2 separate regions of the Homo sapiens genome follow, and region 2 is linked to region 1. The links are contacts of gene promoters, found by promoter capture Hi-C in blood cells and fetal thymus (Javierre and others, 2016). All regions are on one chromosome and are shown on one strand. Each heading gives the region's core, a stretch centred on a gene start or on the middle of the fragment in contact. The rest is flanking DNA. Distances are from core to core; before and after follow the strand shown.

What was found. Contacts are between HindIII fragments. The CHiCAGO score rates a contact against its expected background, and 5 or more counts as called.
Region 2: a contact is called between a fragment that was not itself captured here and the fragment with the promoter of CRB2 in region 1, in 13 of 17 cell types (M1 macrophages, activated CD4 T cells, total B cells and 10 more). The highest score is 12.0, in M1 macrophages.

What each region holds. Positions count from the first base shown.
Region 1 is chr9:123,352,823-123,360,066 of GRCh38, forward strand. It overlaps CRB2 (crumbs cell polarity complex component 2), which reads left to right and starts at 3,375. Exons shown (of 13, transcript NM_173689.7): 1 at 3,375-3,532. The coding sequence starts at 3,439. RefSeq lists silencers at 1,196-1,305, 1,326-1,375 and enhancers at 1,338-1,837, 1,506-1,675, 5,056-5,723. The HindIII fragment of the contact is 7,167 bases long and covers 1-4,651 here.
Region 2 is chr9:123,059,422-123,066,665 of GRCh38, forward strand. It overlaps RABGAP1 (RAB GTPase activating protein 1), which reads left to right. Exons shown (of 26, transcript NM_012197.4): 14 at 5,927-6,040. It also overlaps the pseudogene LOC100422501. Among named protein-coding and RNA genes, the nearest start is that of GPR21, 29 kb to the left of the region's middle. The HindIII fragment of the contact is 1,062 bases long and covers 2,872-3,933 here.

The sequences.
Region 1 (7,244 bases), core at 2,125-4,624:
TGAAGCTGGGGCATGGACACGCTTGTCCAGGGAGGAATGTGGAGTGAGGAGGGCAGGGGGCTGGAGACAGACCCGGACAGGTCACAACATTCTGGGAGGAGGAGTGAGGAACGGTTAACAAGGTAGAGAGACCAGGGTAGCAGGGGTTGGGGAGCCCACAGGGACAGAGTTCCAAGAAGGAGGGCATGGGTGACAATGGAGAAGGCCTTAGAGAAACCCAGTGAGGTCAGGGCTGATGGTGGCCCCAGACTCAGACACAGAGGGAGCAGGGGGACCTGGGCCGTGAGAGCCGAAGGGGCCTCAGCTGGAGCTGCAGTCACTCTCACCCCAATACCCAATGTAGGGAGAAGGAGGGGAAGAAACACCCCAACCTCCATCTCCTCTCTCCCTGGCATCTCCGGCCTGTGCCTCCCACTGGCTCACCTTTCCAGGAAGCAGATGGAAGGAAGCCAGCATGACACAGCCCACAGGTGCCAGCAGGGCAAGGGCGGCTCTGGGTGGGGAGTAGGGACAAACAGAACAACCAGTGAGACCCTGAGAAGGGAGATGTGAGACCCTGGGGAATGATCCAGAGCAGGAGTCACCTGGAAGGGTCTGAAGGGGTTCCTTCTGGTGGGCTCCTCAGTGGGGAGGGTCACTATCCTCCCACGACGAGGCTCTGACAGCAGCCGCCCAGTCCTTGCAATGTTCTCAGGCAGATGCTGTGATGATCCCATTTACAGATGGGAGAACTAAGACGCAGAAAAGGAACAGACCAACAAAAGCTCACCTAAGGGCAGAGAGCAGGAACCGGATTCAAACCCAGGTCTGCCTGATGCCAAAGCTGGGACTCCCAACCACTGAACCTTGCTGTCGCATGTGCCCATCAGCTTGAGAGTTGGTGGGAATCCCGGCCCAGGACAGCGTCCCCTCAGCCAGGGAGGTGGCAGCAAGTCATGCTCAGGCTAGTGGAGGGGCAGTTAGTAACCTGCAGTCGGAGGTTCACCAGTGGAAAGGCTGGAGTCGGGCAGACCCAACTCGAATCCTGCCAGGCACTGGTGCTGGGCTGCTCACCTCTCTGTGCCTCGGTTTCCTCATCCATAGAATGGGGCCAATGCTGACTTTGCAGTGCTGCTGGTGGGTGGGGGGGGGGTAAACTGAGGTTATGTCGATTCCCTTCCCAGGTGGGGAGGACAGGGGAAGTGGATGCACCTGGGGGACCATCTCAGAGGAGCTGGCCCACTCTTACTGCCTTCTCCAGATCCGGACCAGGGAGCGGTCAAGATGGTGTGCCCTTGTCTGACCTCCGTCCTGCCTGCTGTCCAGCGACTCCCTGGCTTCCTCCCCGTCACGTGGGACTCCTGTACCCGGTGCTGTCGGGGGAGCCCCCCTCCATACCCTCCAGACCTCACAAGACACTTCCAGGTCTGGCCACAAGGTGGAGTGTGGCGGCTGCAGGACAGTGCTGGGGGCCGGGCTGCAGAGGAGACTGGACCTGCGCCGGGTGACCTCCCCGCTCTGTGAAAGTGTGGGAGTTTGTGTCTGTGCATCCAGAGAACCAGAGGGTGGTGGTTGACTTGCCGTGCTCCCCCCAGCCCCCCATTGGGATTGCCTGGGTCTCTGGGGGATCACTGAGAAGCTGGATAAAGAGAGCTGGCACTGTCGCCTTGGCTCACTAACGCCACCATTTTACAGGTGAGGAGACTGAGGCCCAGAGAAGGAAGTCACGTGCTGAGGTCACCGGCTAATCAGTGGCTGAGCTGGGCTCGAACCCAGATCTCTTACGCTGTGAGGCCTCTGCTTTTCCTGTGGCATGGAGAGGGGCTTCTCCCACCTGGGGAGAGGGATCCTGTTGTATTGGAGAGGCAGGGGATTAAAGATGGACTGAGAGAGGTTAGTGTCCCAGAAACCAAGGGGCAATCCCTGCCCTGGAGAGAACAGGCCTCAAGGGCAGGGATGGGGCAGGGGCAGTGGATAAGGAGTCTACCCAGGCCTTTTTGGGTTCCCTCCTTTGGTCCCTGGGGACCCAGGGCTGTGGCACTTGCCCCGGGCTAGAGGGTCGGCCAGGGCCTGTGTGGTGCCCACTGCTCCCTCCCCTGCACTGCAGGGGACCCTTGCCCATCCCTCTAGCTCATCTGGACCTCCCTCAATGGCTCCTGCTGTCTTTCCAGGCTGTGTCCTCCCGTGTCAGGGACACATCCCAGAGCCCAGGGCCTGCGTGGGCTGTATCCACGGTTACTGAATAGGGACAAACAGGCATGTATTGGCAGGGGCCGGTGGCTCATTTCAGGAAAGTCCCTTCAGCAAGAGGATTCTCTCCCCACTGGGGCTGAGGGTGGTAGAAGAAAGGAATGTTGTTCTATGTTGTAGTGTCTCTGAGATGACCTGGCTTCCTGAACCAGGTCCCCCTGAAGAGCTCCTCCTGTCCACCCCAACAAGAGGCCAGCTGGAGAGCAAGCAAACATCGAGTGCAGCAGGAGACTATAAGGTTAGACAACAAGAAGGACTTCCTGGCAGGGGAGAGCAATGCTTGCTTGGTTAGAGCTGCCTTTCAGTAGAATGGGCTGCTTTGGATTGCAGTGAGGTCGCTGGAGTTGCAAACAGCAGAGCCAGAGATCAAGGTCAAGTGGAAGAAAGCTGGGAAAGGTTCAGTTTGGCTGGTGAAGGGTGGAGAGGGTAAAGGGAGGCAGGGACCACCGTGGTGCAGGGGTGAGGTGCCCTGCAGGGAGCTGATCCTGAGGCCGATGGTGGGAGGAGCTGTGTGTGGTCGGGTGGGACGGGGTGGGGACAGCAGGAGACACTGAGAAGGTGGCATGGCCAGGAGCTAGGGGCTGACCGAGTGTGGGGAGGGGGGAGTGGGGAGGGGGCGTTGGGCTGCCCGATGGGAGGTGCCTTGGCTCCGATGGGAGCACTGGGGAGCAGCAGGTGGGGGGACGAGCTGGGTGGGAGGGGCTGCAGCTTCCCAGCAGAGACAGGGTCTGGGAGGCGACTGGACTCGAAGGCCTGGGCTTGGGAGAGAGGCCCGGGCTGGAGAGGTGGGGAGGGGGATCCAGGAGAGGGGATAACTAAGGACTTGGGAGTAGCTGGCATCACCTGGTGAGACGAGAGTCCTGAACAGCCCCCTCTCCAAGGACAGAAATTTCTCCAAGGAGGCTGACCTGAGAGGTGGGAGGAGAGTGGGGCAGAGGGTCAGGAGGGAGAAACCAGTGGGTGCCAAGACCAGGTCAGCCCCACAGGCTAGGGGGCTTGAGGACTTGGGGCTGATGTCTAGGGACGTCCACGAGGTGGAGCAGCCCAGGAGGCCTGGGTGGGAGGAGGAGGCGGTGGCGGGGAGGGGAGGGAGGGGCTGGGCCTCTGTCCACAGCATTAGTGCTGGTTGGAGGGACGAGGGGGGTGCGGAGCCAGCCAGGCCGCCCTCCCGTTCTCACAGCAGCCGAGCAGAGCGCAGAGCGGGCTGCCATGGCGCTGGCCAGGCCTGGGACCCCGGACCCCCAGGCCCTGGCCTCTGTCCTGCTACTGCTGCTCTGGGCCCCTGCCCTTTCCCTCCTGGCTGGTGAGTTGGGGCCCATGTCTGGAGGGGCCTGGGAGAGGGTCTGTCCCCCAAGACAGATACCCCAAGCCTTGGCTGCTGGGGTGGTGGGTGGGCTGGTCCGCGTGGGTGCAGGCCTGAGCTGTGGGGTGCACAGGAGTGCGCGGCTGTGGCCCCCAGACTCTGTGGGGCTCCACGGAGGTGAGTGTGTTCTGAGGCTCGGGGCTGTTTCATGTTGAGGGGGGTTGTAAGTTTCGGGGTTGGGGGATCGGGGGCTGGGCATGATTTGGGGGAGCTGATGCGGGTGAGGGATGGGGTGCGTGTTTTGGGAGGTGCTGTGTTGCATCCTGTAAAGGGCTGGGGGACTTCTGGGTTTCTAGGGGCTGAGTTTGGGGAGTTGCAGGTGGCATAAGCCTCACCCCAGAGCTTGTTCTGTGTCGCATGCTGGGTTGTGGGGCACAGGTTGTGGGTGTGTTAGAGTTGGGAGGTGGATGAGCTGTCTGGGGTGAGCCGTGAGTTGTGTCCGAGGAGTTGGGTGTGGTGAGCTGTGTCCTAGCACACGCTGTGGGGTGTAGGTTGTCCAGGGTTGAACTAGGTCTTTGCTCTCAACATGAGGGGTGTGGGATGTGCACAGCCGACCCCAACTCGGGACTGAGTGGAGAAGCGTGAGGGAGACTCAGGGAGCTGGGTGCCTGCCCGCACCCCTCCATTTGTGCGGTAGCCCTGCCTGTGCTGAGGGCTGCTGGGGATGCTCTGGGTCCCTGTGGGGTGGCTGGGGATTTGGGAACATGTGTGTGTCCCCTGCTGCCCCCTCCCCAGCATTCCAAGGCCAATCTGAAAGGGCTCCCTGAAGCCAGACCACATTTGCCAAGCCCTTTTTGCTTTTGTCCAAGCTCTCGGAGCCTGGAATTCCTCCTGGGGGGTCCAAGGGAACGCTTGGTGTTAGTTACTATAGTTACAGGGGCCGGGCCTGGGAAGTCCCCTGCCCCCACCACCACAGGCTGGGGAGGGAGCCAAGGAGGGCCTGGGCTCTCCTGAGGCTGGGGGAGCCCTCCCTGCCCCAGAGCTCCACAGGCTGTAGGGTGTGGGGGCCAAGTGTCTCCCAGTCCCACCTGGGGACCCTCATGTTTCCCGCACTCACAAAGCTTTCATTTCCTATCCTCTCTATGGGGCCCTAGGGAGGATGAGGACCCCATTTTGCAGTGAAGGAAACCAAGGCTCAGAGAGGGACGGGGACTTATGAGCTGGGCTCTGCTGGCAGGCGACTTGGGCTCCATAGAGGGGTGGGGCATGGTGGCGGGGGGCGGGGTGGCTGCTCCTCTCTGTTCTCTGCATACAAAGCACGTGAGATCCCGGTCTGTGGATCGGTGCTCTGTCCCCTGCCCTGTGATGCTCACACACCCACACTCCGCACACCTGTGTGGCATGCCCAAGGGCACACAGCACCACAGGGACAGGTGCTACAGACACATGTGGATCTACCAGCACATGCACCTACCTACACACATGGCATGTGCCTGCACACCAATGTGCACACCCCAACACGCACATGTGGACATGTGTGCATTCACACTCAGTGTGCACTCACAGGGGACCTGGAGGCACAGAGTGGATGGAGGCTGTGGGGGGTCTGGACACTGGTGTGTACACTCAACCCATCAGGCCTGCTGGGTTGCCCAGGGGCAGCCTTTCCTCTGCCATTTCTGTGCTGGGAGCGCCATCCCTGGGGATCCCTAAAAGTTGGTGGGGTACACTGCAGGCATGACCATTTCTGCATGCTGGTACCCTAGACTGCCTGCCGGGAGGGGAGGGATTGGGGATTTTGTCACTTGAAAACCAATTTCCATCCTGGAGGGGATGGGGGCTTCTGGAGGCCATGGGCCCCTGGCTTTTCTCCCCACCCCTGCCAGGCCCTGAGCTGGGCCTCTCCATCCTGGGCCCAATTTGCCACAAAGGCCCGGCTGGTTGCCATGGAGAGGACCAAGCATCTTGGAGTACAATGGGGCACGTTGGGCTCTCATATCCACCCTCCCTTCCCCAAACACCCAGGGAGCCCAGCAGACAAAGGGGCAGTGAGTCCAGGCCCCAAGTCCGGCCCCTCCTCCAGCCAGAAGGGGGTGGGGGCCTGCAGGACAGAAGCAGAGATGGAGCAGAAAGCCACACACATTCAACCCAATGTCAGGATCCTTTGGACAGTGGGTGTCTGCCTCAAGTAAAGAATTGTTAATGAGTAAGATCAGCCACTCCATGGCAGGCACTGTGCTATTATTAACGAGGTCTAATTTAATTCTCCCAACAGCCTATGAAGTCAGCTCTGATACCCCTAGTTTACAGAGGAGGTAAACGAGGCCCAGAGATGGCCAGTCCCAGAGCCAGGAAGCCCCAGAGCCAGTGCTGGGATTTCACAGTACACTGTGCTACTTGCCTAGGCAAAGTCACGTCTCTTCTCTGTCTCTACAAAACGAGGACAGACTGGCTTACTCCGAGCGCTGGTATAAGGATTGGAAGAGAATGCAGTGAGCGGTTCCCCACCCCAGGTTTTGGCATGGAACCCCCAATTTCAAGGGAAATTTTAGATGGAAGCCCATGAATAGTTAATAGTAAAATTGTTAAAAGTGGCCTGTTTGGGTGGCAGGTGGGGAACCCCACCTGCTCTGTCTCCCCCTCACTTCAGGAGGTAACTCCCTGGAACTGTGCTCTGAGCCCAAACTCTCAAGGGTTGGTCAGTGCCAGGCACAGGGTAGGTGCTCCGTCCCTGACAGCTATTGTTGCAATTACTGTTATCAAAATTATGTCTTTTAACCTCAGAAGGTAAACATTTTTGAAAAAGAGTATGCCAAATTATTCTGCCCAAAAGAGAATTTCACCCTTTCCTGATGACTGAGTGAGTGTCTGCAAGCCTCCATGGTTATTCAGCCCTACCCTTGTAGGGTAGAGCCTTGGGGCCCAGGGATATTAGATGAACAATTTCTTCCCCTATGCTAGAAGTTCCCACACCTTATGAGATCTTAGGTCGCTTCTTAGAAATATTCTGTCTCTTGATTTGTTGGGACAGGAAGCTTCCCCAGTAAATGCTTCTTTTTTTGTTTGTGGTTTTTCGTTTTTGTTTTGTTTTTTTTTTTTTTTTTTTTTTTTTAAGAAAGGGTCTCACCCTGTTGCCCTGGCTGCAGTGCAGTGGCAAAATCATAGCCCACTGTAGCCTCGACACCCTGGGCTCAAGCCATCCTCCCACCTCAGCCTCCCAAGCAGCTGGGACTACAGGGACCCACCCCATGCTTGGCTTATTTCGTTTTGTTTTCATAGAGCCAGCGTCTCACTATGTTTGCACAGGCTGGTCTTGAGCTCCTGGCCTGAAGTGATCCTCCCACCTCAGCTTCCCAAAGTGCTGGGATTACAGGTGTGAGCCACTGCACCTGGCTTCAGTAAAACACTTCTCATCAGTTGTTGGCTGTTATAAACAGGCCCATTCTAAGTGCATGAAAAGTAGGAGTTACTAATGAGTGAGGCCTGAGACACAGTGGGATTACTGACAGCTGGGTTCTGGATAGACGGGGAAGATTGCCTGCTCTGCCCAGGCTGATATTGGAAGCTGTATTCCTGTGAAAACCTTTAGAGATTTTTTTTTTTTCCTGGGTGAGGCAGCTGTAATGTACTAAAGCAACAATATGTGAGTGGCAATTTAGGGTTTGTAAAGTGAAAATTTCACATGCATTGGGAGATGTGGACCTCTGGGAAA
Region 2 (7,244 bases), core at 2,153-4,652, 290 kb before region 1:
GCGGGCACCTGTAGTCCCAGCTACTCAGGAGGCTGAGGCAGGAGAATGGCGTGAACCCGGGAGGCGGAGGTTGCGGTGAGGCGAGATTGCGCCACTGCACTCCAGCCTGGGTGACAGAGCGATACTCCGTCTCAAAATAAATAAAAATTAAAAAACAAAAACAAAAAAAACTAATCACTAATGTGATGCTGTTAGGAGATGGGGCCTTTGGGAGGTGATTAGGTCATGAGGGCAAAGTCCTTATGCATGGGATTTGTGCTCTTATAAAGAAGAGACCTAGAGAGCTGCCCTGCCCCATATGAGAACACAGCAAGCACATGCCACCTATGAGCTGCAAAGCGACCCTTCACCAAACACTGAATTTTCCAGCATCTTGATCTTGGAATTTCCAGCCTCCCAGACTGTAAAAACAATTCCTGTTGTTTATAAGCCACCCAGTTTGTAATATTTTGTTAGAGTAGCCCAAAGCGACTAAGACAATCATTTAGGCTGTTATATTAGTCTTGGTAAGATGAAGCATGGGTCTGCCTTTGGGTGATGCACTAGAAGTGGAAAGGAAGAGACAGAATCCAGACTCTGCAGAAAGATCTCCAGATCAGTGATGATTCATGGTAGCTAGAATCAGAAACAAGGTGGTAAAACCTGCTGCCATTCACAAGAATAGAGAACTGTTGAGAAATGTTGGTGGAGGGAGGTGGGGAATGTGAGATTACAGTTTTTGTGAGTGTAGTATAATTTACATACAATAAACATACACCTTATGTGTTCATTTTGATGAGTTTTGACAATTTCTTATATTTGTGTAAACACCAAAGAAAATATAAACATTTCTGTCATCTCAGAAAGTTCCCTTATGCCCCTTTTCAGTTGATTTCCCTCCCACCCCCAGGTAACCATTTCGGTTTCTGTCACCATGGGCTTTTGCTCAACATAATGTTTTTGAGATTTATTTGTGTTGTTTCATGTATTAGAGGTTCATTTGTATTGCTGGGTAGTATTCCATTAGATGGATATACCATAATTTATCACTTTTTCTGTAGATGGACATTTGAGGTTTCTAGTTGGGCTATTACACATGAGGGTATTAGGAATGGAATTGCTGGGTCATGGTAGTTAGGTATATATTTAACTTTCTGGGAAACTGCCATGTTCTTTACCAAAGTGGTTATATCATTTACACACCCATTAGCAACCATTGAGAGTTCCAGTAATTTCATATTCTCACCAACATTTGGTATTTTTATTTTAGCCAGTCTCATGTGTGTCAGTTTGTGTTTATAATTTGTGAGCTGTATATACTGTTTATTTTGCTGCTTGAAATGTCAGGGACTATATACCACTACAATTACAGGGTTTTATTGAAACGTGTACTACACTGCATAGACAGGAATATACAGACTTTTGCAAAATGCAGCAAACATTTTTAACATTTGTTATTATGTGAAAAAAGTACAAAAGTGTTCAAAGAGATATACATTTCAAGTTGTAGCAGGTTGTGACAAAGTTTCTGAGGGCAAAGCATGTATAAAATTAATAACATGTTAGTATATTTAAAATCATAACAAAAATCTTCTCTCTGGTCATGCTGACCATAACAAATTACTGTGTTGTAGTATACTTATAACAAGGGTTAACAAACTACCACCTCAGGGCCAGGTTCAGTTTGCCTCTCACTTTTGTTTATTCATTTTTGTTGTTGTTGTTATTGTTGTATAAGACAGGCTCTCTCTCTTACTGCCCAGGCTGGAGCACAGTGGCACAGTCTTGGCTCACTGCAACCTCTACCTCCTGGGCTCAAGGGATCCTCTTGCTTCAGCCTCCCGAATAGCTAAGACAGGTGTATGCCAGCACGCCCGGCTAATTTTTGTATTTTTGTAGAGATGAGATTTTGCCATGTTGCCCAGGCTGGTCTCAATCTCCTGGGCTCAAGTGGTTTACTCGCCTCGGCCTCCCAAAGTGCTAGGATTACAGGCATGAGCTACTGCGCCTGGCATGCGCTTGCTTTTATAAATAAAGTTTTGTTAGGACACAGCAGTGCTTGTTTATTTACATATTGTCTATGGCTGCTCTACAAGGGAAGAGTTGAATAACTGCAGCACTGAATGGCTTGCAAAGCCAAAAATTTTTACCTGACCCTTTATAGAAGAAGTTTGCAAGATGGCAATAGTGCATAATCCTATTGCATTTTTGTTTTCTTCTGGAAATTAAGGGTGTTTTTCTTGGGATAAATGAATTAGCCAAAACACAAAACCAGTTGATCAAACAAAACAAAACAAAACAAAACAACCCACCTCTCTTATAACAGCAGTAATTTTCAGAACGTAACAACTGACAATACTTTTGCCATTCATTCCGTGTTCTTTTAAAGTCACCATCTGTGCACTGTTGCCGTAAGTACATTTATAAAAACTTGTCTGTTAAGCCATTATACTAACTACAGCCTCCTTAAGAGGATGTATTTGGTTGACTTGATCAGTTTGGCCACGAATAGTGTTACATGTGTTGCATTGGCAGGCTCTCTACATCAGTTACATTTATGTTTAACTCCTTAGAAATAAAAGGAATATGGCCGGGTGTGGTAGCTTACAGCTGTAATCCCAACACTTTGGGAGGTCAAGGCGTGCGCATCACCTGAGGTCAGTTGAAAACCAGCCTGACCAACGTGGAGAAAACCCGTCTCTACTAAAAATACAAAAATTAGCCAGGCGTGGTGGCACATGCCTGTAATCCCAGCTACTTGGGAGGCTGAGGCAGGAGAATCGCTTGAATCAGGGAGGCGGAGGTTGCGGTGAGCCAAGATTGCTCCATTGTACTCCAGCCTGGGCGACAAGAGCGAAACAAGAAAGAAAAGGAATATATATTGTTGTATAAAGCTTAATTTTGTAAGCACTTGCTTTGACTATTTTGAAAAGCTCTTTGCTTTTTTTCTCTTAGGGGATCATCCATAATGTTGCTGTGTTTTATTTTCAGAACCTTTTCAAATTTAATGTCATTCTGATAGGAACTTACTAAACTCATCATTATTAGAATTTCTGCATCACTTTTGCATGATGTGGCCTCCAGCAAGTCAAATGAATTTATTCCAAGTTCTTCAGCATATTTCCTTAAGGCCAAATATTTTAAGCAAATGATTCACATGGAACTCCTCAATTTATTATCATTCTTGAAGGCATCAAAAATTGAGTGTGAATTTTCAAAATGACCTTCTTTTAAGGGCATTTTGCCCCTTCATTCTCTGATAATTCCATGATTAATGGATATGGGATGGCAAATTGACAAGAACTGGCCCAGTTATAGAGAGTACTTTCAGTTTTTTGTTATTTTTTACGTCCTGTGTACAGTTGAATTTCTAAATCTCGTCTCCTCTCTCTCTCTTTTTTTTAATTGAGACAGGTCTCGCTGTGTCGCCCAGGCTGGAGTGCAGTGCCACGATGTTGGCTCACTATAGCCTCTGCTTCACTGGCTCAAGCGATTCTCATGCCTCAGCCTTCCAAGTAGCTGGGATTACAGGCACCTGCCACCATGCCTGGCTAATTTTTGTATTTGTAGTCAGAGACAGGGTTTCACCATGTTGCCAGGCTGGTCTCAAACTCCTGGCCTCAAGTGACCCACCTGTCTCAGCCTCTGAAAGTGCTGGGATTACAGGCATAAGCTACCATGCCCAGCCCAAATCTCATATCTCTAATAACTGTATCCTTTTTCAGGTTGTCATCTCCGTAATCAGTGTGATATGATTGATGTAACTGGTGTAAAATATTTTGAACGTTTCCATATTCCTCTCCATTCTCAATTTAATTTCCTAACCTTCGTAGTTGTCTTAAACCACAGTTTATCATTCTTAGCATTTTTTAGAGCTTCTGTTGTTGTTTTATAGAATTCCTAAATTCATCTGATTCTCTCTGGATTGTTTCCAGTTTTGGCTGTTAGGAATAAAGCTTCTGTAAACATTTGAGTTTAAGTCTTTTCATGCATTTATATGTTCAGTTCTCTTTGGTAAATACCTAGGAATGGAATCACTGGGTTGTATGGTAATTATGTGTTTACTATTGTAAGAAACCACCAAACTGTTTACAAAGTGTTTGTACCATTTTGCATTGTATAGGAGTTCCAGTTGTTTCTTATCCTTTGCCAACACTTCTTAATTTTAGCATTTTGTAGATATGTAGTGGAATCTCATTGTGGTTTTAATTTGCACTGCCCTGAGGGCTAGTAATGTTGACATCTTTTCAAGTGCTTATTTGCCATGTGTTATATCTTCCTTAATGAAACACCTCAATCATTTACACATTCCCACTTTAAAAAATTAATTGTCTTTCTCATTAATTTGGAGAGTTATATATTCTGGATACAACTCCAACTTTATTATCAGATATGTTTTGTAGGCATTGTGTCCTGGCCTGTGACTTACCTTTTCATATTTTAAACAGTTTTTTGAATAGTAAGATTTTTAAATTTTGATGAAGTGTCCAGCTTGTCGTTTATTTATAATTCATATCTCATAGCGACCCCTCTTCTAACTCTTCAGCTCTCTGTTCAGCATATTCCTCACTAGCACTCTACCCTACAATTCTAGCTACCTTGCCCGCCCCAAAATTTGTGTGCGTGCTCTCTCACTCGCTCTCACTCTCACTCTCGCTCACTTCGCTCGCTCTCTCATTTTCTCACTCTCGCTTGCTCTCCCTCTCTCTCCCACTTTCTCAACTTTTGAAGATACCTCCAACGCGGAGCTCTAATTCAGTCTGGAAGCTGCCACCATGTAATTAGCTGCTGTAGTCATAGATCTCCCTTGGATTTTTTCCTTTTGTTGAAGAGCACCACAGTCCTGAGCTGCCATTAACTGTTAAGACTATGTTAATAACTAGAAGTAACATATGCCACTAAAGCTCTTTGAAAAGCAATTTGGCGACATCCTTGAAGGTATAAATAGTTTACTGTTTAAGAAGGAGCATAGGCTTTAAAGTTAGTTCAGATCCCACAACTATAAAATATTCATGGCCTTCGGAACATGATTACCCAAAAGGCTAGAGAAATTATTGGACAAGAGAAGAACATCACTTGCATTTTTCATCTTAAAACAGAGGTATCATGTTCTTTGGTAGTATACTGATTATGATGTATTCTTACCAAGGGGAATCAACTCTATTGTCTTAGCTATGAAGACACTGCATTGTTAAAGTAGAAGGTCATATTTCTGTGTTCCAGTTCTTTACTGTGTCAGCAAATGAAATTTAACAAGGGGAGAATATTAGAAATAACTGGGTGCTTGGTGTATTTTACAAAGGTTTGTTGACATTATTGACATTTGTTCCGTTTTAGTTAACTCATTATAGAAGAGGAAACAGTTTTTGTCCATTGGAAAAAGCAAAGGATATTTTCCCATAGCCTGTTTGAATCCCTTGGCATTTGGTGGTCTTGTTCATACTGAGTAGATTGCTTTGTGCATTCTTATGCCATTTGCCTCTAGGACAAATCCCAATTAAGTAACTACTCTTTTCCATTTGAAAACTGGCATATGGGCTTCATTCCAAAGCATCAATTAAAGCAGCAGTTTTTCTACTGGGAGCACTTTACCTCCTCCTTTTGCGATTAGTTTGAGTATTTTCCTATAGGAAATCCATTCTTAATAGCACATTTTCCATCTTACAATAGAAGGGTCACCAGCTGCAGTTCTTTGCAGTAAGGATGGAGTATAATATGGAAGTGTATAGAGTGAAATGGGTTGCTTTTCTTCCATCTTTTTTCCCCCTTTACATTTGCTTTTGCTTGAGTGGTTGGTCCCTGAAGAGGCAGTAACTATGGGCATACATATGTGTATGTATGTCCCTGCAACATTTAAAGTGTGTAAATGAGAAGACCTTGCCTAAACCTGAATAAGAGTTTACATGATTAACCTAACTAAACCCTCTCTTTCCTTATGTTTCCACAGGAGTCTCCCCAGGACAGTGCTATCACCCGGGATATTAACCGAACATTCCCAGCCCATGACTACTTTAAGGACACAGGAGGAGATGGACAAGATTCCTTATATAAAATATGCAAGGTATTTCATGTCAAAAAAAAAAAGGACTCAATTCTGAGTGGTGGTTCTACTTTGAAATTACATAAGAAACAACTACAAAGTGTAATTTGTATTTGATGTTCAAGAATTCCAAAAAGAGAAAAGACATTGCAAAGTCAAAGGTGAGAACACAATTTTAGATTCATTAAAGAGTAGAAAATAATAAGAAATAAAATGGTAGGGTTTCCTTTCCCCTTCTAATCAGGATTTTTAGATGACAGTTCCCTGGCTCCACATTTAGACTTTCAAAATTTGTTTTTATGTTAAGAACCTCTGAGCCCTGTGACACTGCAGACTCCTTTTCAGTATTCACTTTATAAGTGATGAACTTGGCACCTACGGTACGGTCTCACAGTGGGAAGTGTCATTGCCCATCCAGGTGTACTTATAGCACTGCAGCATAGTAAATGATGGAAGATTCTGATTTCTCTCAAAAGGTCTGTACCCGAACACTAAAGGAAGTAATAGCCTGTTCAATTTCCGTATTCCATTTTCAAATAGATTTGGCACATTAGAGCTATTGGGTTATAAAAGGAGGAGATAGGAACGGAGTTTTTCAGTCTTCATCTGTTCTCAGAATTAGTCTTCAGTCTTTTCCTCCCAAAAGTAATCAAGTACTTATTTAGCATCTCCTATGTAGTAAGTACAGGTAAGGCATGAGACATGTCGCTAATGCTATATGACAACTGGTTTTAGGACAGACTAGCAGTAAAGGATAGGCTCGCCAATGAAAAATTCGATGATTTAAACTACAAGGACAGTTGAGTTTAGAGAAATATTTTTTAGATTTCATTTTAACTTTTACATAGGATACAGATTTCTGTGGTAATCTTTCTTTCTGATCATCCTTTTTAGCCCCTTCTCAGTTTTATTTCCTGCTTAAGCAGTGACCCCTGCCATCTCTCACTTTACTACAGAATTTCCTAGAAAGAAACGCTATGTCCACTGCCTCTGGTCCCTCGTCACATACTTTTGACTCCACTATATTCTAGTTCCTATTTCATGGTGCTCTTCCTTGCAGAGCTTTCTGCTCTTGAGCATAAGACATGTCACTCTCTTGGGTACGGGCTCCCTCTCATGCCTTCACTGACTTCATCATTTTATCTCACACTACCTGCCCCTAAACCAGAGGCCTTCCTCTGGGTGCTCAGTTGGGTAGTTTGGCTAGCTCTACACCATCTCCCTG